6 separate regions of the Homo sapiens genome follow, and all the other regions are linked to region 4. Evidence: promoter capture Hi-C in 16 types of primary human blood cells and fetal thymus (Javierre and others, 2016). All regions are on one chromosome and are shown on one strand. Each heading gives the region's core, a stretch centred on a gene start or on the middle of the fragment in contact. The rest is flanking DNA. Distances are from core to core; before and after follow the strand shown. Region 1 holds the start of PNLDC1 (PARN like ribonuclease domain containing exonuclease 1). Region 2 overlaps ACAT2 (acetyl-CoA acetyltransferase 2). Region 3 has its middle 140 kb from the start of SLC22A3. Region 4 holds the start of SLC22A1 (solute carrier family 22 member 1). Region 5 has its middle 24 kb from the start of PNLDC1. Region 6 overlaps SLC22A3 (solute carrier family 22 member 3).

Region 1 (3,278 bases), core at 45-2,544, 320 kb before region 4:
ACCCCAATTAAATGTTTGTTTAGAAGTGAAATATGTTACTTCTGCCAATTTGAGTATTCAATGTGTTATTTTAAATGGAACACATCTGTATGAAGTATGATTTGTTCTGAGAGGTCTTCAGAATCAAATGGCTTAATAGTCCCCTTTTGCTTAATTAATGTCCCGGAGAGGCATTTAAAAGTATAATTGAAGATCGGATGCAGTGCCTCACACCTCTAATCCCACCACTTTAGGAGGCTGAAGCAGGTGGATCACTTGAGGCCAGGAATTCGAGACCAGCCTGGCCAATACGGTTTAACCCTATCTCTACTAAAAACAAAAATGAGTTGGGCGTGGTGGTGCATGCCTGTAATCCCAGCTGTTCAGAGGCTGAGGCGGGAGAATCGCTTGAACTCAGGAGGTGGAGATTGCAGAGAGCCGAGATGGCACCACTGCACTCCAGCCTGGGTGACAGAGTGAGACTGTCTCAAAAGGAAAAAATAAAGTATAACGGTAATGTTTTCTCCGCTAACCTTAAAGATTGATTTGAGCACCTCACTTTGAGGACCATAGTTCCAAAACGCTGTTCAAGTAGAAGCCTAGAATTCAAGGGAGGACACTGTAAGGAAGACCATGGACTAGTTGCACTGGAAACAGTAACAAAAGTAAAAATTAAGCTCACATGTATGTGATGATGTAGGTAGGGATTTCCGCAAGGAGTGAGTGCACGAGATAATCCCTGGGGACCAAGGATTCCTTCAATTTAATGGGCAGTTCTTGAGGCTTTGCAAAGTTTGATTGCAGGTGTGAAGACAGTGGTAAGGTGGACAGCAGAATGAGGAAAAAGATGTCCAGGGGCGTGGGAGAGGGAATGGGGACAGACATACTGGCAGTGATGGAGAAGTTGGGAAGAGGTGATTTAGAAGACCGTGAGCCGCAGCAAAGGATCTGCTTATTGCAGTTGCGTCCGGTGTTGTTCCTGCTCCGCTTTTCTGATTTCACCCTTTCTGGACTCTGTCTTCGTCTCCTGCCACGCCTCTTAACATTCTAAGTCCATGTAAATGACATTCTCACGTTAAGGGCTGCAAAGAAATTGCTGAGGAGCCAGGTAAACAGGCTTTGATTGCAATTGCAATCAAACCTCTGTAGCAAATCGTACAATTAAAACACCCGCAGGCAGGTGTGGGCGACGCCAGCAGCACACGGGGAAGCTGGGCACGTGGGGCGGAGGCAGCTGCCTGGTTTCCATGTGTGCGCCCTTTAAGACCCGGCGGCGCGACGGAAGCGCGTGGGCAGCACGTGGGCAGCACGTGATAGCGCTGGGCGACTCCGCGGAGCTGCACGGCCATGGACGTGGGCGCCGACGAGTTCGAGGAGAGCCTCCCTCTGCTGCAGGAGCTCGTCCAGGAGGCCGACTTCGTGGGTGAAGAGCCTGGGATTCGCGGCTGTGCCGGACAGAGCCCCTTGCCCCGGGCGAGCTTGAGGAGGGGGTGGCGGGACGGTTGCCAGGCCACAGGGCCTCAGAGAGGGCCTCGGGAAGGACAGGGGGGCTTCCTTCTCCAGCCCCGGGGCGGTGGGACTTTGAGCAGCAAGTACACTCCGAGCCCCACGTCCCTTGTTGGCCAGAGCCCCGTGCGCCCAGGTGCCTGGCTGCTCCTTGCCTTGGTTCCTCCATTTTCCCTTCCTGACCTCACTTGGCTTCTTGAGCGCAGAGGTGAGCGCGGGTGCCTTGGCCGCCTGCAGATCTACAGTGTGAGGAGTGCTGGCGATGTTCTGCACCCGAGGACTGCTATTTTTTGCCTTCCTGGCAGGTCTGGACATAGAGTTCACGGGCCTTCGTTCTAACCTGTCTGGGCCCCAGCAGATCAGGTAAAACTAAAGCTGTGTCCCCTCTGTATAAGAGCCTGGCCAGACCAGCACTGTTTCTGGCCAGCAGCCTGTTGGCATTTGGGGGGCAGGACGTTTTGTGTGGCTTGCTCCTACGTGTTGGAGGACCTTGCTTTTTTCTGTCCACTAAATGATGGTAGTGCTCCCTAGTTGTTGTAACAAGGAAAAAATCCTCCCCGGTTGCGAGTGGTGGTCCTGCCGCGGAGGCCATAGTGCCGGGATGGGATGTCATTGCTCGTGGAATGAGATGCCTGTTTGTTCACAGTCTTTTTGATTTGCCATCGGAGTGGTATCTAAAGACCCGTCAGAGTGTTCAGCAATTTACAGTCTGTCAGATTGGTGAGTTTAATATCAGCTGTTAGAGTTTTTCAAGAAGGTATTTTTATTGTCCTTGGATTTCCTACTGTAAAAACAGCTCTGAGATTTTTCAAGGATATTGAGTATCGTTTTGTATGCTTGTTTTGTGTTGGGCCATTGTATACATATGGAAATCAACACTTCGGAGCAAACCAAATTTAGCAGCATTGTTTCCGTGCTTAAATAAGTCAGTATTAAGGAACACTCACTGTTACTCTTTCAAGTAAAACTGTGTGTGTGCGATTTTTATTTTATTTTTTGAGACAGGGTCTTGCTCTGTCACCAAGACTGGAGTGCAGTAGCATAGTCTTAGCTCACTGCAGCCTAGACTTCCTGGGCTCAAGTGATACTAGCACGTCAGCCTCCTGAGTAAACTGGGACTACAGGCTCACCACCACACCTAGCTAATTTTTAAATTTTTTGTTCAGATGGGTTTTCGTCATGTTGGCCAGGCTGTTCTTGACTTCCTGGGCTCGAGCAATCTTTCTGCCTCTGCCTCTCAAAGTGATGGAATTATAAGCGTGAGCAACCACACCTGGCCTGTGATTTTTTTTTCTTAAGAAAATTTACACACAAAAATAATTTTTTTTAAGGTCATCTCAGTTTCAGAAACTTTTTTTTTTTCCTTGATGGGATTTGGAGATCTTTCTGTATCGGTTCATACAGATCTATTTGTTGATTTAGTTATTAGTTTATTTTCTGAGATGGAGTCTCGCTCTGTTGCCCAGGCTGGAGTGCAGTAGCGCGATGTGGGCTCACCGCAACCTCCACCACCCAGGTTCGGGTGATTCTCCTGCCTCAGCCTCCAGAGCAGCTGGGATTACAGGCAATTGCCACCAGGCCTGGCTAATTTTTGTATTTTTAGTAGCGATGGGGTTTCACCATGTTGGCCAGGCTGGTCAAGACAGAGCTGTTAACGGTTGCGTAATGCTGTTTCTTTTACAGCTACTCAATCCTGCTTTTGTAATGTGAAATTAGCTGTAGAGAATACATGAACAAATGAGCATGGCTCCATTCCAGTAAAATGTTATTGTATTTACAGAAACAGACCCTGG
Region 2 (3,113 bases), core at 528-3,027, 350 kb before region 4:
CATAAAACTTGTGAAAATATATAAAGCCACTGTTTTATGTATGTCAGGTTTTGACTAATACTCATGTAAGACTGAGATCCTTGAGAGAAGGGAAAACCCCACTGTCACTGTCTCTACCCAGGGCACTTCCCAAACTGTGTTATGGAGAGGCAGAGCCTAAGCTGGAAACAGTGGTCTCAGTGATCTGAAGAAGCAGAGAATTTGGGGCTTCTGAGATGGCTGGAGTTTGTGGGGCAGAATAAGGGGGAGAAGAAAAAAAGAGCTCCAGAAATCTGCAAAAGGTTCCCCTTAAGTCTTTGATCAAATACTAAGCTTGTAGATAACAGCTTACAAGGCCTAGTAGAAAAGAGCTGCAAAGGAGAGGTGAACTGGAGATTTTATAGATTACTAGGAGATAAAAGTTCTGGACAAGCGAGTGGAAACCTTACTGAACTCCTTGGACACTCCATTGACATCTCAGAAAGACCACAGTTTAGGGGTAGGGCCAAAGCCATAGAGTAAAAGCTACTCTAGACCCAAACTAATAAGCTTAAAAACAAGCCTCAAAAGGATCAAGGTGATTTGCCAGTATTTTGACTGCTTGTGGAAACAAAACTCAATATATTCTCTAAAGATAATAAAATCTCTATGTCCAGTTATGTAGCAACTATAATGTTCAGCATGCAATGAGAACTTTCTAGATACACAAAGAATTAGGAAAATATAGCTTACAACCAGGGTGGAAAAAAACCACAACAGTCAACAGACCCTGCAATACTAGAATTATCAGATGAGGATCTTAAAGGCTCTATTTTACATATGTTTAAAGATACAAAGGAAAATATAATCTTCATAGAGGAATAGATGTGGACATCTCAGGAGTAAAAGGAAAAAATATAAACAAGAACCAAATAGAAATTCTAGAACTTGCAAAGTACACAATCTGAAATTAAGAATTCACTGGGATGGGGCCGGGCATGGTGGCTCGCACCTGTAATCCCAGCACCTTGGGAGGCTGAGGTGGGAGGATCACTTGAGGCTGGGGGTTTGAGACTAGGCTGAGCAACATAGTTAGACCTCATCTCTAAAAAAAAAGAAAAAAAAATTCTGAATGGCCTTAACAGCATCTTGGAGACAGAAGAAAAAGGGTCAGGAAGTTTGAAGATAGATCATATACACGACCTGAAGAACACAGAGAAAAATAATGAAGAATAAATGAACAGGCCAGGCACGGTAGCTCACGCTTGTAATCCCAGCACTTTGGGAGGCCAAGCCGGGTAGATCATCTGAGGTCAGGAGTTCAAGACCAGCCTGGCCAACATGGGGAAACCCTGTCTCTACTAAAAATACAAAAATGAGCTGGATGTGGTGGCCCATGCCTGTAATCCCAACTACTTGGGAGGCTGAGGCAGAAGAATAGCTTGAACCCAGGAGGTGGAGGTTGCAGCAAGCTGAGATCACACCATTGCGCTCCAGCCTGGGTAACAAACAAAACTCTGTCTCAAAAAATTAAATTAAATTAAATTAAATTAAAAAATAGGCCAGGTGTGGTGGCTCATGCCTGTAATCCCAGCACTTTGGGAGGTCAATGCAGGCAGATCACCTGAGGTCGGGAGTTTGAGACCCACATGACCAACATGGAGAAACTCCATCTCTACTAAAAATACAAAATTAGCCAGGCTGGTGGCGCATGCCTGTAATCCCAGCTACTCGGGAGGCTGAGGCAGGAGAATCGCTTGAACCTGGGAGGCGGAGGTTGCGTTGAGCTGAGATCACGCCATTGCACTCCAGCCTGAGCAACAAGAATGAAACTCCGTCTCAAAAAAATAAAATATAAATGAACAGAGCCTTGGTGGTCTGCAGGACAAAATAAATAGGACTAGCATGCATGGAATAGGAATCTCATACATAAGGAAGAGAGAGAATGGGGCAGAAAAAAACTGAAGAAAATTTCCACATTTGGTGTGAAAAGAAGTTCAAAGACCAAGATAGACAAGGGAAAAATTACACCTTAGCAAATTGTAGCAAAAAGTTAAAAAAAGATCATGCCACTGCACTCCAGTCTGGGCAACAGAGTGAGACTCTGTCTCAAAAAAAAAAAAAACAAGAGTGAAAGTGAAGAGCCATTTTTAGATGAAGGAAAATGAATTGCCTGCACACCTACACTACAAGAAATACTAAAGGAGCCAGGCATGGTGGTATGTGCCTGTAGTCCCACCTACTCAAGAGCTGAGGCAAGAGATTGCTTGAGTCCAAGAGTTTGAGTCTAGCCTGGGCAATGCTATCATAGTCTACTATGATTGCACCTGTGAGTATCTACTGCATTCCAGTCTGGTTAACATAGTGACACAACAACAACAACAACAACAAAAGAATAGCTTCCAGCCGGGCGCGGTGGCTCACGCCTGTAATCCTAGCACTTTGGGAGGCCGAGGCGGGCGGATCATGAGGTCAGGAGATTGAGACCATCCTGGCTAACACGGTGAAACCCCATCTCTACTAAAACTACAAAAAATTAGCCAGGTGTTGCAGCAGGTGCCTGTAGTCCCAGCTACTCTGGAGGCCAAGGGAGGAGACTTGCTTGAACCTAAGAGGCGGAGGTTGCAGTAAGCTGAGATATTGCACCATTGCACTCCAGCCTGGGCAACAAGAATGAAACTCCATCTCTAAATAAATAAATAAATAGTGTAAATAAATACTGTATAAAATGCAAAGCACTCAGAATAGCCAAAACAATTTTGAAGTCAGAAAATAGCACTTACATGCTCTGATTTTAACATTACCTATAAAGCTGTTGTAAACAAGACAATGTGGTTTTGGCATAAGGACAGAGAAAGAGAACAGAGTTCAGAAATAGACCCAGACTTATGCTTGTTTTCAACAAAGGCATCAATGGAATGAAATGGAGAAATTAAAGTCTTTTCAACAAATGGTGCTGGAATAACAGATTACTCACATGGGAAAGATGAACCTAGATCCCTACCTCACACCCTATATAAAAGCTAATTTGAGATAAATCGTGGATTTAAAAATAAAAGCAAAAAATGTAAAGCTTCTAGAAGTATATATAAGAGAATAGCTTTTACAGGGTGCAGTGGCAGGTGCCTATAGTCCCAGCTACTAGGGAGGCTGTG
Region 3 (3,491 bases), core at 845-3,344, 370 kb after region 4:
CTCACACAGCTGATATCGCACAGCTGAGCCACTTGATTTTGTTGTTTACCTCTAAAGAAGGTTGAGTTTTTCTCTAGCAGGCAGTAACTTGACTTGGACACCATTTTGATGCTTGGACACCTGCCTTTCAGCCTTGCTAGGTTTTCTCTATAGCTGCCTTAATTCTAGGAATACACTAATTCTACTCCTAAAGTCTGGCTTTTCTGGGGTCTCTGCTGAATGCCCAAGATGTTCAGTGTGGTCACTCTCCTCTGGCTGGTCAGAACTCCAACCGCCCCCAGTGCTATCTCAGCTCTGTGAGCTTTATTGAGCTCACTGTTGCCTTGTAGTTGCTGTTCCTCAGTAGATGTCCTTTGCCCTAGTCTCTTGTGGAACATTTTTCTGTGCACAAAAAACTTTATGTTTAGTCAATGACTTGAAGAGATTTCTATACGTATTCCTAGAGCTCCTTTGCCCCACAAATCCGTTCTCATTCTTAGCTTGCCTAGAAAATCCTAGGTACCGGAAAATCCCAAACTCCAATCTCTCCTCCATTCAGCAAGATGGATACAGTCCACATGGGTTCCGTCTCCCTGCTCTTCCGTGCAGGAACGGTCCCAAGAAGAAAGCCAAGGAGGGCATCTGTGGAGTTGATCTCATTGTACTCCTTGTCACAATTCTCTCAGTCCTCTACCATCTGTTGTTTTACGTGTGGAAACCATTTTTCCATGTCCTTTGTAGCCACTTAGAGGAGAGAGACTGGCCATGAGTTGGTCAGACCCAGGCTTCTGTCCATCTGCCCACCCCTTTTATTTTTCAGCATCTGTCTCTTTGCTGTCTCTCATCAGCCTTCCTGCCTTTGCCCTTCTCTTTCTGGCACCTCATATCTGAGACCATTGCTGCTTGGGATCGAGTTTGTTTCTACCTATTGGAATAGACGTAGAAATAGAAAGCTTTGACTCTCCATAGATATGCACATACTCCTTCCTCGTGAGCCAAGACAGAAAGGGCCAACACAACTTTTACTTCAGGAATCAGAGGTTAGAATGATAGAATTCCAAGGTGGAAAGGCTGCATTGACTCTTACTGTGTGTTGTAGAAAACACTCTTAAGTGTTTGGTTATTTGTGGTCCTGACAGTTTTCGTAATGTGATCACCTCGCCTTCAGATAGCCTCCTGATGCATAAAGCTATGAGGAAGGAGAGCCAGATTAACATATCCTATCTCTGAGACCCTTTGCTTCAAGGCAATATTCCTGAGACATTTTGCTATGACCTCTACATCTGAAACAAGTTGAGTCCTGAGCACTTAGCTAGAAGCATGACTCTTCTAACAGAAACTTTAGTCAGCCCTTCCTTCTCTTATGGTAAAGAACAAAACGTATGCATTTGGGTACTGTTCCGGGGTCCTACTGTGCTGGTGTGGTGTCATAGATGACCAAGCTTGGCAGGTTCTTCCTGTGACAGTGGTGAAATATGTGCCTCGATAACTCTGTCCATTTCCATGGTAGCACTCCTGAACAGAAGGCCTTGGCTCTGTCGGTGCTAAAATTAAAACAGGAAAAATTAAGCTGTGTATCTCCTAGAACAGGGAAACAGTTGAAGCCATTTATGACACAAACCAGAAAGAAGTCTTGGAGAATTACGACCATTCTCTTTTTTTTATTTGTACACAGATGAACATGAGAAAACAAACAAACACCAAAAGAACAGATTCCTACCATTCTAGAAATGCAGTAAGTTCTTCCCAATATTTCATGTAAAAGCTTAGAGAAAAACAACAGTTCAGAGTGCTTCTTATGGAAAACTGCGCTCACGTGCAAACTGCTCTCTAGTGATCTCTACTGAATGTTCATGGGGATCACGGGGCATGAGAGAATAAAGGGCTACGCATTTGGCAGTGCAGACTGTAGATGGTGATTGGCTGCTGAGGGCGGAGGTGGGGACAGACATGGAAACCTCGCACGTTTCCCTAGACCATTGATCACGAGAGCCAAGGCCTTCAGCTTCTGGCTTCTGGCAGATTGGGAAGAAAACGGTTGTGCGTCTAGGACTGCAGGCAAAAATAGTTTGCTTCATAAGGATGGGTGGAGGCCAAAATCTTATCCCATTGGAAGAGAGATGGAATTTTCTCATGCCCCACATCCTGCATTGCAATAAAGCAGAAGTCTCCTACTCTTTCTCTCCAGACCCCCCACAAGTACAACTTCCATTAGAAAAAGGTGCAGGAACACTGAGAAATCACTCACTTCAAAGCCTAGGCCTGCAAATCTTGCCCAGGTCTGAGGAAGGCCTGAAAGATAGAGCCTTGGGAGCTCATGTAATGCTCCATGATGCAAGGGCAACATGGAATTAATGCAGCCCTGTTAAGTTTCTCAAGATTCACGGGCTTGAAAGCCACACATTTCTGAGAATCTGTGATGATGAAGATTGCACTGAATGTTGTCTACTTGAAGAAATCCCTGGAGAAGCTTACTGCATTGGAAAGAGACACATATCTGACAGCATGTTACAACAGGAATTTTGGACTGGACACTGAGATAACTCATTTTACAATGAAGTGAGTGGTGATGTCGAGCACCCTGGAGGGTTTGTGCCTATCCAAAGACACAGCCCACTCATGCTGCACCAAAAATTACTCCTCTGGCTCCCCCAGACACTGCACTGAGGATTCCTCCAAAATGGCAGATCCTCAATCAACATTGGAGCACCTGTGTAGAATGAAGCCTTCTGCATCAGTGGGAGTTTCCATGGCTTTTCTTCTTAGTGTCTAAGCGTGGAGATGTCTGGCCACAGACTTCTTACCTTGTATGAATGAATCCTCTAGGCTTGGAACTGGGATAACAGTCAGAGGCACGAACACAGTCCCTTCATCGTCTGAGCACCGTGTCAGGTTGCAGTACTCCCACCTGACATTGGGATCCGTCGTATAACACCAAGGGCCTGCCGAACAATCCGGATTCCTGCAGTAGTTCGAGATCAAGCCACTGAAAATCACAAAACAATACACGTTACAAGAGGTGGGACAATATGCAGGAACATCCAGCACCCTCTCCATTTTGCTGTAACAAGGTCATAACCAGTGCCTTTGAAATATTCCCATTAGAGGTACCATATGATTGCCACAAGCATGAATGGCTCTCAAATTCTCATCCACTCTGCACATTTCTAACAGGTAATAGATTTTAACTTTTTTTTTTAAGACCTAAAGTAGGAAATACCTCTTAGAAACACTGAAATAATACATACATGTGGCCTAGAAGGGATGAGAATATCCTCCTTCCATCTTTAGCCAATCCATCTCTCTGGAATACATGGTATAGATTTTGACGTGTGTATTGTGGAATCACTTATACACATACAAGAGTACCTTCATCTGTCTAGCTCTCTTTATCTGTCTCTACAGGACTTCATACAGTACTGCGAAAGGTGGAACTAACATAGAGTTCCTCAATGAAATAATGGCATCCAGGATGATATCAATCCCAGGCCAGCCTTCTAACTCTATGTACT
Region 4 (3,271 bases), core at 352-2,851:
AACCAAAAGTCTGACTGGTAAGAACTTTTACCCTTTCGCCAGCATGTCAGGCTGCTGAGCTCCCTTCCCCTCAGCTATGGAGCCCTATTGACCCTGGAGTCCTGTTGATCTCTTGTCCTTCCCTTCTTGTGTCAGTAGCTTATTCACAAAGAAAACAAAATCTTTCATTGCATGAAAATCTTGTTCAAGTGAAAGCCAAATTTTACCCTTACATTAGTCTATTAATGTCAACCCCAATTAAAAAAAATAAAACCTTACAGAGAAATCCATCCAATCTTAATCAGTTTGATCATGAACTGAGATTGTTATAAATCTTTTATAACCTTTTACAAATTTTTTTTGTTAAACAGCATGTAAGTGCTTCAAGAAAACCTTGTTGTGCTTGTATTCCATTGTTCAACTTATGGAAAACCAAATAATATCCTTTTTAGTGTAGTCAATATGTTTACACACAGGATTCCTTTTACAAGATTAATTTTTTACAAACCTTCCATAACTTGTTTGAACCTTAAGCTTTATCTTATATAATTTAAAACAATCATTTAACCCTCTGAACTAGGCAAAAATTTACATTCCCATGCCTTCTTATATTATTTTACTAATGATACATTTTACTCTCCTTACTCACCTCACGTGTAGATCTGTTTTCAGTAGTCATCACTACATGTTATAATGGTAGCTCTTAGTAATTGTTAATTTTGGTGAAATACCCAGTAAGTTATTTTAGTTACGTACTTAGGTGCAGATGAGGTCTAACTATTTCCAGCATAGCTAGGGCAGGCCCTACCAAACTGCAAAGCAGGAAAGTTGAACAATTTTCAAAAGCCAAAGCAGTTTATGACCTTAAAGCATTTAGTCAACCTAGTTTCTGACTTGCATAATTTAGACCATGTCTATATTTTGAAGACATTTCTATTTTCATTTTACTGATAATTTAAAAGACAGCCTATTTAGCAAAGTCATACTTAAGTGAATTTGAAAATTGCTTAGACTTATTTACTTAATTTATGAACACTCTTTTACTTATAAGCCAATTTGGTAGACACAACATATAACAGTAAGTGTACATACAAGTAAACACATCTAGACATGTATACACACACACAAATGAAGAGGTGGAGCTTAAAACACCCAAATTGGGTGCAGTGTATACTGCTTGGGAGATGGATGCACCAAAATCTCACAAATCACCACTAAAGAACCTGCTCATGTAACCAAATAATACCTGTTCCCTCAAAACCTATGGGAAAAAAAAACTAAAAAAAATACTTAAATGGTATCACAGAACTAATTAGCCGAATACAGTATCTAGTACCTGGCTGTCACCCAATACTTGCCTCATACCATCACATCTAGAAAACAAGTAGATATTCTTTTTGGAAGAGCCCTGAGGGAGCTACTAGGAGGTTTGCACGGCCTGCTCTCCTGCCCTCTTCTTGCTCTGTGGCTGAACTTCAATTCTCTTCGGGCTTAGACCCCACTGACTCGCTCCCGGGCAAAGCAAACGATTTGATCAGATGGCCACGTGCATTCTTCCTTTTCCTGAAACCAGCACCATAGGGTAAAAGATTATTTCTACTTGGTTGCCTTCCAGATGTTTCACACTTGGACAGCAAACTGATTTCAAACCACTCCTTTTCAAAGATCTCTGAGGGAGACATTGCACCTGGCCACTGCAGCCCAGAGCAGGTCTGGCCACGGCCATGAGCATGCTGAGCCATCATGCCCACCGTGGATGACATTCTGGAGCAGGTTGGGGAGTCTGGCTGGTTCCAGAAGCAAGCCTTCCTCATCTTATGCCTGCTGTCGGCTGCCTTTGCGCCCATCTGTGTGGGCATCGTCTTCCTGGGTTTCACACCTGACCACCACTGCCAGAGTCCTGGGGTGGCTGAGCTGAGCCAGCGCTGTGGCTGGAGCCCTGCGGAGGAGCTGAACTATACAGTGCCAGGCCTGGGGCCCGCGGGCGAGGCCTTCCTTGGCCAGTGCAGGCGCTATGAAGTGGACTGGAACCAGAGCGCCCTCAGCTGTGTAGACCCCCTGGCTAGCCTGGCCACCAACAGGAGCCACCTGCCGCTGGGTCCCTGCCAGGATGGCTGGGTGTATGACACGCCCGGCTCTTCCATCGTCACTGAGGTAAAAAAGCCTCTGTAACATGGGAGTTCCTGGGACAGGGAGAAATATAAAGCAAATCCTATGAAGTTCAGTTCCATATCAGGAAAGAGGTAGGGGGCTATGTTTATTGTGCAGTTCGTGGGTGTCTGGCTGTGTCCCAGGCACGGGGCATTCTCTTCTCTAGTTTAATCCACCACAAACTCTGGGTCTTTGAGGAGGAAGCTGAGGCAGGAGAGAACAGCTAGCACAAGTCGGGGGCCAGGTTGCCAGGTTGCTTGAATGGGAGTTGACTGGGAGACCAGGAGCCTCTCTGCCTGCCCCACTGGCTTCTCCCAGAACTATCAACTTGCTCTGGGTCCCGCTTCCCCACCAATAGTACTGTGGGCCCCCTCCTTCTGCTCAAGAGTGATGACGATTGACCTCAATGATGGTGTTGAGGTGGCCTGGAATTGCCCTGGCTTGGAAGTGAGAATATTTGGTGGAATCCCAGCTGTGCCCCTTATTAGCTGAGCATCACTGGGTAAGTCACTGCCTCTCTAAGCCTCATTTCCTCATCAGTCAACCAGGGATGATGACGGCTGCCTCATAGGGGTGTGAGCTTCAGCTGGGATCTGTGAAAGCACTGAGCAAATCCAAACTGAGTCACACCGTGCAGTCCGATGGGGCCCATGGGATAGGGCGATGGCCTCAAAAGGGCCTTGCTTGAGTAGTTTACTTGGTTATTTGAGCATTTTGCTTTGAGAATCCTTTAGTAAAAAGTGTCACCACATTTTTTTCCCATCATGAGCCCTTTTGAAACTATTGCACGGTAACAAGTGTGGATGCTTGGTGGGTTGGAGAAGCTGTGGGCCAAAGCCCGTCAGGGGCCTTCTGTTAGTAACGAGCAGTGGCGTGGTTTTGGTGCAGGCACTGCTTCCCTGAAATAAGAGGTAACTGGGCCCTCCCTGCCTCTGGTCCTGCCCACTTGTCTGCCCCCACTACCCTCGCCCAAGCTCTCCGGACTTCTTGGGTCTCTGTTCTTCCTCTTTTCCCTTTCCTGAGTGGTATCAGCGGTGACACATTTAGGGCTATTACTGGAGGAAAGCTTAGGGTCCCTCCCCTCTGGGCCTGAGCATTGCTCTACCTGCTTGCCTGGAGCAGAGCAGGTGCCGGTGCAACT
Region 5 (3,361 bases), core at 816-3,315, 300 kb before region 4:
CCCGCCTCTGAGCAGCCACTCACTTGCAGCTCCTAGACTCTCCCCGATCCCTGCCCCTCCTCTGAGCAGCCACTCACTGGCAGCTTCTGTCTTCGTGCAGTTCTCCTGGCTGTCCAGACCCCCTTCACATTACCTAGACAGTTTCAGGGTCTCCTCAGTTCTGGGAGAGCCCTGCCTGCCTCCTCTTCTCCCTTTTCTGCTGTGGCCCTCACGGACATAAGTGGGCTCCAGAAGGCAAATCTGGTCATCTCTCCTGCCCAAGCTCCTTCTGTGGATTCTGCCCCAAGTCCACAAGCCCTTTCTCTCTGTATTTGGGGCCCTGCTGTGTCTCTGGTCCCCCACGGGTGTCTGTCCTTGGGATCACTGTTTCTCTTCCTCTTCTCTGAGCCACTCACCACTTGACCCAGCTCAGTGGACATCTCCTCTAGGTTCTAGGTCACTGTTGCCTGCTGTACCTGTCAGGTGTCGGGGGCTCAACCTGTCTGAGTGCCTCTTGCCTGTCCCTGCTAGAGCACTTGGTGCTGTGTGGCAGTGTCCCCTGGCCTGGCCCTGCACAGGTGGGCAGTGGAGTTCTGGAACCTGCAGGGGCCCTCAGTATCCTCACAAGCCAGTGCTCCCCATGGCTGGAGGCTCTGCTGTGTTTTTCGACAGGGATTTGAGTTTGTTGCTGCTGCTCAGGTGAGGTGCTTTGAAAATGGCCTTGAGTAACTGATGTGCTTCTGCAGCAGAGGGAAAAGACAAATGGCAGCCTCCGAATCTGCCCAGCCCAGGGTGTTCTCACTGACCCACACGACCTGATCACTTAGAAGTGATGTGATTTCATGTCCTTGTTCTTACAATTTTGGTTCTTGTTTGTGGTTTAAATTATTTCTGTGAGATTTTTGGTATGAGAAAGAAAGTGACTAGAAATAGCCTTAAATGATCTTAAAATTAGCTAATCTTTCTCTTTACATCCTTCAGGTACTAAGTTCAGGCTGCCGTAACAAAAATACCATAGACAGGGTGGCTTAAAAAACAGAATCTTATTTCTCACAGTTCTGGAGGCTGGGAACTCTGAGAGCTGGCGCCAGCTGAACTGGCTCCTGGAGAGTGCTCTCTTCCTGGGCTTGTGGAGGGCTGCCTTCTTGCTGCATCCTGGCGTGGCAGAGACAGCGAACATCTCTCTCACTTCTCTTCTTGTAAGGGCACTAATCCAATAAGAGGGCCCCACCCTCATCACCTCATCACCTCCCAAAAGGCCTCACCTAAGACCATCCCCTTAGGGGTTAGGATTTCAACCTGGGAATTTGGGGGAAACACAAACATTCAGTCCATAGCAAGTATCTTTCCTTTTCTCTGAAAGATACAGAGGTTCATATCATTTATTGTTACTACAGAAAGCTTTTCTCTTTCTCTGTGGTCTTTTTAGCTCATGAGACAGCAATACTAATTTTCTTGGCATGAAGTATGTGGTAGAGGTTGTAAATTTTGAGATACTTTCTAAGGGGAAAAAAAGGCTGTTACTTTCTAACCACTAAAATCCTTTGTGTAATTTTCTATAAGTTTGTCTGAAAATCCACTGTAAGACTAATTAAAACCTCATTTTTTTGTATGGTGGTGACTTGCCAAATTAAAAATTATCTGGGGCCAGGCATGGTGGCTCACGTTTGTAATCCCAGCACTCTGGTAGGCTGAGGTGGGCGGATCACATGAGGTCAGGAGTTCGAGACCAGCCTGGGCAACATGTTGAGCCCCTATCTCCACCAAAAAATACAAAAATTAGCTGGAAGCAAGGTGGAGTGGCTCACATCTGTAATCCCAGCACTTTGGGAGGCCGAGGTGGGTGGATCACCTGCAGTCAGGAGTTCGAGACCAGCCTGGCCAACATGGTAAAACCCTGTCTCTACAAAAATACAAAAAATTAGCCAGGCATGGTGGCGGGCACCTGTAATCCCAGCTACTTGAGGGGGCTGAGGCAGGAGAATCACGTGATGAACCCAAGAGGCAGAGGTTGCAATGAGCCGAGATCGCACCATTGCACTCCAGCCTGGGCAACAACAGAGAAACTCCATCTCAAAAATAAATAAATAAATATAAAAATAAAAATTAGCCAGGCGCGGGCATGCCTGTGCTCCCAACTACTCAGGAGGCTGAGGCCGGAGAATCGCTTGAACCCGGGAGGCAAAGGTTGCAGTGAGCCGAGATCGTGCCACTGCATTCCAGCCTGGGCAAGAGAGTGAGACTCTATCTCAAAAAAAAAAAAAAATTATTTGGGAAAATATAACAATCAGGAAACTTCTGAAAAAGATAAGTGACCAAGATGACTTGTCCCACCTGCCGTATGGGAGTACATTGATCCAAGCTGTGCATTTTCTACCATTTTCACATCGTTGAGATTGGGTTATTTCTTACAGTCAATGGTGTGTGTTAATTTAATTGGTGTTTTCTTAATGTGCACAAAATTGGTGCCTTTGTAATTGCATGTTGATGAGACTATGGCGTAAAGTTATAATTAATACATTGTGAGATTGGCATAGTAATAGAATCTAGGTAAGAAATAGACTGAGTGCATCTGGGAATTTTGCTGTGATAAAGGTACCATATTAAATCTGGGACAAAGAGCCGTTTAGAAAAAAAAAGCCAATTCTTTAGTCCTTACACCAAAATAAATTAGACATGTCATATATTTAAGGTTAAGAAAGGCAAATCATATAAAAGGAAATGAAAACGATTTAATCTTGGGATGAAGAAGGGCTTTCTAAGCATGAAACAAAAGCTTCAAGTGGTAATTAAATAGTTGATTGATTTGGTGCAACCATGTCTCATGTTGTCTGAGACATCCTTCACTGGAGAGTGACCACTGTTTTGTGTTCCACTAAGGGATAAATGCTGCCGGGGAGGTTTTTGTCCCTCATCCTAAGATACACCCTGATCTCAAAGATGTTGAAATGGAGGGAAAGTGCGTCTTGGAATGGGTGAAATACAGAAAAATACGCTTACTTACAACCAAAAATCTAAAAACCACCCAAAACTACTTGAACATGGGAAGCAAGCATTGTCACGGTGGGTTAGTTGCAGGACAGTTTTGGCAAAACTGGGGTGGCCTTGCTGCTGCCACTGCAACTGCTACTCTAGTTTTTGGCGGTTTACCCTGAGGGGGTTACGAGGATGCTGCTGGTGGTGGTGGACGAGAGGCAGGAGCCGGCGCTGGGGCCGGGTGGTCTGCAGACTCTCGTCCTCTCCTGCGCCTCCTCACGTCGGTTAGAGCCATCGGCCCTCCTCTGTCCCCTGGTACTTTCAAGTGCTTATCATAATGTAGAGAGGTAGATTTGTGTCCCTAACTCCCCAGTGTGCCTTCCCTACAATGCAGCTTCTCTCCAGA
Region 6 (3,409 bases), core at 855-3,354, 310 kb after region 4:
CCTGAATTTAAAGATCTTTAAAATCTAAATTATCTAGTCAAATTTTTTTCATAAAACAATGTTTTAATTAAAGATTCAGTTTTAGGTCAAGTGCACAGTGTCTTTCTTTAAAAATATTTAGATGTGGCCATCAACTATCAAGAATGTTTCTAGAATGAAATATATTCAGCAGTGCTGTGTGGGGATCAGGAACACAGGCTCCACCAATCAGTTGCCTGGTTTCAATTCCTGGCTGATTTACCTGTGTACTATTCACTCCTGAAAGTCCTAAGCCTTGTTTTCCTTATTTATAGAATAAGATTAACAGAAGTACTAACTTTATAGAGCTTTGATGAGACTTAAAATAATCCACGTAAAGTGCTTAGTCTAGAATCTAATATCACACACTCCATAAACACTAGCCATTTTAATGTATTAACACATAGAAATGAATTGTAGAAAACATTTTGGCAACAAACTATACCATAATATATATTTGTAATCTATGGAGTTCCTATCTTTCACTTTTGATATTCCTGTCTTGTTTTTTGAGCAGCAAAGGTTAAGGTAGACACAGAAAAATCCCTCACTGGGGTCTTCAAATTTAGAAGGTTAGCTCAGGGGTCATCTTAATAGACATTATATTAGTTAAGATCCAGGTCAACTTGCTAATGAAACAAGGCCCCAAAAATACAGTGATGAAAAAGATAAAAGTGTCTTTCTCTCTAGCACACGCACACAGAGGTGAGCAGCCAAGCTCTAGTGAGGCAGCTCTACTCCATGAGTTCCATTTATCTTGCATCTCCACCATCGCCTACACAGGTGGTATGGTTGAAGCTCACCAGCATCTTCTTCCAGCAAGTTATTACCTTTTTAAATGCAGAGACCTAGAACTTATACACATGACCCCTACAACCACCTCATTGCTGAGGTCTTAATCACAGTGCCACTCACAGTTGAAAAAGAGGATAGAAAAAATGACTGTCACTAGGCTGCCATATGCCCAACTAAAATTCTACGTATTCTCAAAAGAGGGAAGGGAAGCATGGATGGTGGAATCCATCAGCAGTCTTCCACGGCGATTGTCATGGAAACTATTGTTTTGTTGACTCTAGACACTATTGATTTTAAGACACATAGTCATTTTATGTACCACTAAGTAAAGGAAACCATGTTGTTTAAACTGGGACACATTTCTTTCTTACCAGCTCAGTTGTAGGACACCTTCCAATTAAGAGATGTTAAAATGTAGAAAACCAATGTGTCTTGGTATAGAAGAAATACAGGATTGTGAAGACTTTGGAAAAGAAAGTGACCAAAGGCATTCATTTTGCAGTCTACTTTTGTGTGTGTGTGACTTTCCTTGGAGCAAAGATAGGCATAAGATATCAAGCTTTGGTTGATCTATTGAATTTACTGTTTAGAATCTGTGATTGACAAGGTACTATCAGTGTGTGTATGCTCTAAGTCAAATTCCTGTGATTACTGGTAGAGAGACTTTAGCTCAAAGCTTTGGGGAAAATGTGCCTAGATTTTCATTCAATCTGGGCCAAATCTGGAGTTGTACAAATAGATAGCATCGGTCTTGTCCTTAGTAGCCAGCATTTTTGTTTAATAGGAGGAGAGAAACCCAGGACGACACTGAGGAACAGATATGACCAGGGCACTTGACTTCTTGTTTCAGCACTCAGTCATTACACAAACAGTTGTTGAACACCAGGCACTTTGCTTGGTGTGACAATGCACTCCCGCCTTCCAAGAGCTCCAGACCCACAGGGGAGTGCTGTTGTACAGGTGCTAGGATAGAGGTCCGGGGAGTAGAGGCAGAATTTGGGAGCCATCAGTTCTATCTGAGGCTAGGAAAGGCTTCCCAGGGGAGGTAAAATCAGGACTGAGGAGGTCAAAGAGCCCTCCATGCAGAGGTAAGAGACTGACAAGCACAGGAAACTGGAGCTGCGGTCACTGCAGGGTATCATGCTCTGATGCTTCCGCATGTTAGACTGGAGGCAGGATGTGGGGATTGGGGGGTGTCCTCTCCAGCTTCGCTTTTTTCAGTGTTTTGTATGTAGTTGGCCAATAGCAGTATTTGTTGAATTGAATTGAAAAGACCAGTTTCTTGGATGGCCAGCTAGAGATGAGCTGAATTTTTCTGGATCAAAAAGATGTTAGATTACAATAAATGGGCAAAAGCAAAATAATACCTTTGGTGCTTACTCTTAAACTTAACATTACTCTATTTTGTTTGTGAAAGTCAGATTTGAGGATTTAGTTTATAAAGAAACCCTTAATTGGTTGGATCCCACTTGCTTCACCCACCCTGACTCTCATTTCCCCCAATGTAATAAATGTGCATATGTATTTAGAACATACAGAGCAGTTTAACATAAAGTACTGAAATTATCCTAAGAACAGATTCTCAGTGCAGCAATCCTATCTTTGTGAATTTGATGTGTTCTAAATGCAAGAGCAGAAGTGTTTTAATTGTCAGGTTTTAAGATATTATGAAAGCCCCTAGTCACTTCAGTAAGATCATTTGATTCTGGTTAATGACAAGTCTATACTATGCAGGTTTTTTTTTTTTCTGTCTATTGCTACTGAAATCTGCTTTTCTTATATAGATCACTGTTACAGATGAGGAAGTTAGTAATCCATCCTTTTTAGATCTGGTGAGAACTCCCCAAATGAGGAAATGCACACTTATTCTTATGTTTGCTTGGTAAGTTTGACTTGTGATGGATTTAAAAGCTTGCGTTAAATTTACAATACATCCCTTCCTTCAAATCAGCTTGAAGTTATCTCTTACTTGTTCTCTGGTGTCTTTCAATGTTGCTACAGGTTCACAAGCGCAGTGGTGTATCAAGGACTTGTCATGCGCCTGGGAATTATAGGGGGCAACCTCTATATAGACTTTTTCATCTCGGGCGTGGTGGAACTGCCAGGAGCTCTCTTGATCTTACTAACCATTGAGCGCCTTGGACGACGCCTCCCCTTTGCGGCAAGCAATATAGTGGCAGGGGTGGCATGCCTTGTCACTGCGTTCTTACCAGAAGGTAATCTTACCCCACATCTGTTTGGCAGCCAAAGGACTTGAAAACACCTAAATCCACAATCAAGTATAGGGAGCCACTTGTTCTTAGGAAATGTGCAATGGAATCACAGTCTTTCGTGATGTCACTCCATTTTCTGCTTAATCAGCATAAAAACTTCGAAGTAAGAGATTGGTTCTGTAGATGATTCTCTTTTCTCAATTGCTAGGATCATTTATGAATGAAATAGATATTGTGCCCAATCTAGCTGATAGCGATGTGGTTTCTGTTACTCATCTTTATGTGACTTACTTTTGTGATATCTCTGATGTTTAACTTATTTCCTGAACCTCTGCCATGCTGCTGGCACCATGCTAAACGCTGAGGTTACACATAGAAGAACG

Evidence for each region. Contacts are between HindIII fragments. The CHiCAGO score rates a contact against its expected background, and 5 or more counts as called.
Region 1: the fragment with the promoter of PNLDC1 here is called in contact with the fragment with the promoter of SLC22A1 in region 4 in 3 of 17 cell types (neutrophils, M2 macrophages and total B cells); the score reaches 6.5 in neutrophils.
Region 2: a contact is called between a fragment that was not itself captured here and the fragment with the promoter of SLC22A1 in region 4, in 1 of 17 cell types (neutrophils). The highest score is 5.4, in neutrophils.
Region 3: a fragment that was not itself captured here is called in contact with the fragment with the promoter of SLC22A1 in region 4 in 1 of 17 cell types (total CD8 T cells); the score reaches 6.3 in total CD8 T cells.
Region 5: a fragment that was not itself captured here is called in contact with the fragment with the promoter of SLC22A1 in region 4 in 1 of 17 cell types (neutrophils); the score reaches 5.2 in neutrophils.
Region 6: a fragment that was not itself captured here is called in contact with the fragment with the promoter of SLC22A1 in region 4 in 3 of 17 cell types (total CD8 T cells, total CD4 T cells and naive CD8 T cells); the score reaches 5.2 in total CD8 T cells.

Annotation. Positions count from the first base shown.
Region 1 is chr6:159,798,982-159,802,259 of GRCh38, forward strand. PNLDC1 (PARN like ribonuclease domain containing exonuclease 1) reads left to right here and starts at 1,295. Exons shown (of 19, transcript NM_001271862.2): 1 at 1,295-1,402; 2 at 1,791-1,848; 3 at 2,132-2,205. The coding sequence starts at 1,327. The HindIII fragment of the contact is 10,328 bases long and covers 1-3,278 here.
Region 2 is chr6:159,769,582-159,772,694 of GRCh38, forward strand. The region is part of intron 4 of ACAT2 (acetyl-CoA acetyltransferase 2); the gene reads left to right. Among named protein-coding and RNA genes, the nearest start is that of SOD2-OT1, 8.8 kb to the left of the region's middle. The HindIII fragment of the contact is 2,503 bases long and covers 527-3,029 here.
Region 3 is chr6:160,489,998-160,493,488 of GRCh38, forward strand. It overlaps the pseudogene LPAL2. Among named protein-coding and RNA genes, the nearest start is that of SLC22A3, 140 kb to the left of the region's middle. The HindIII fragment of the contact is 705 bases long and covers 1,743-2,447 here.
Region 4 is chr6:160,120,214-160,123,484 of GRCh38, forward strand. SLC22A1 (solute carrier family 22 member 1) reads left to right here and starts at 1,602. Exons shown (of 11, transcript NM_003057.3): 1 at 1,602-2,133. The coding sequence starts at 1,723. It overlaps LOC124901452 (a long non-coding RNA gene), which reads right to left and starts at 1,482. Exons shown (of 2, transcript XR_007059842.1): 1 at 629-1,482. The HindIII fragment of the contact is 2,683 bases long and covers 512-3,194 here.
Region 5 is chr6:159,822,948-159,826,308 of GRCh38, forward strand. No RefSeq gene overlaps it. Among named protein-coding and RNA genes, the nearest start is that of PNLDC1, 24 kb to the left of the region's middle. The HindIII fragment of the contact is 1,375 bases long and covers 1,379-2,753 here.
Region 6 is chr6:160,434,183-160,437,591 of GRCh38, forward strand. SLC22A3 (solute carrier family 22 member 3) reads left to right here. Exons shown (of 11, transcript NM_021977.4): 6 at 2,598-2,695; 7 at 2,815-3,029. Among named protein-coding and RNA genes, the nearest start is that of SLC22A3, 88 kb to the left of the region's middle. The HindIII fragment of the contact is 1,235 bases long and covers 1,488-2,722 here.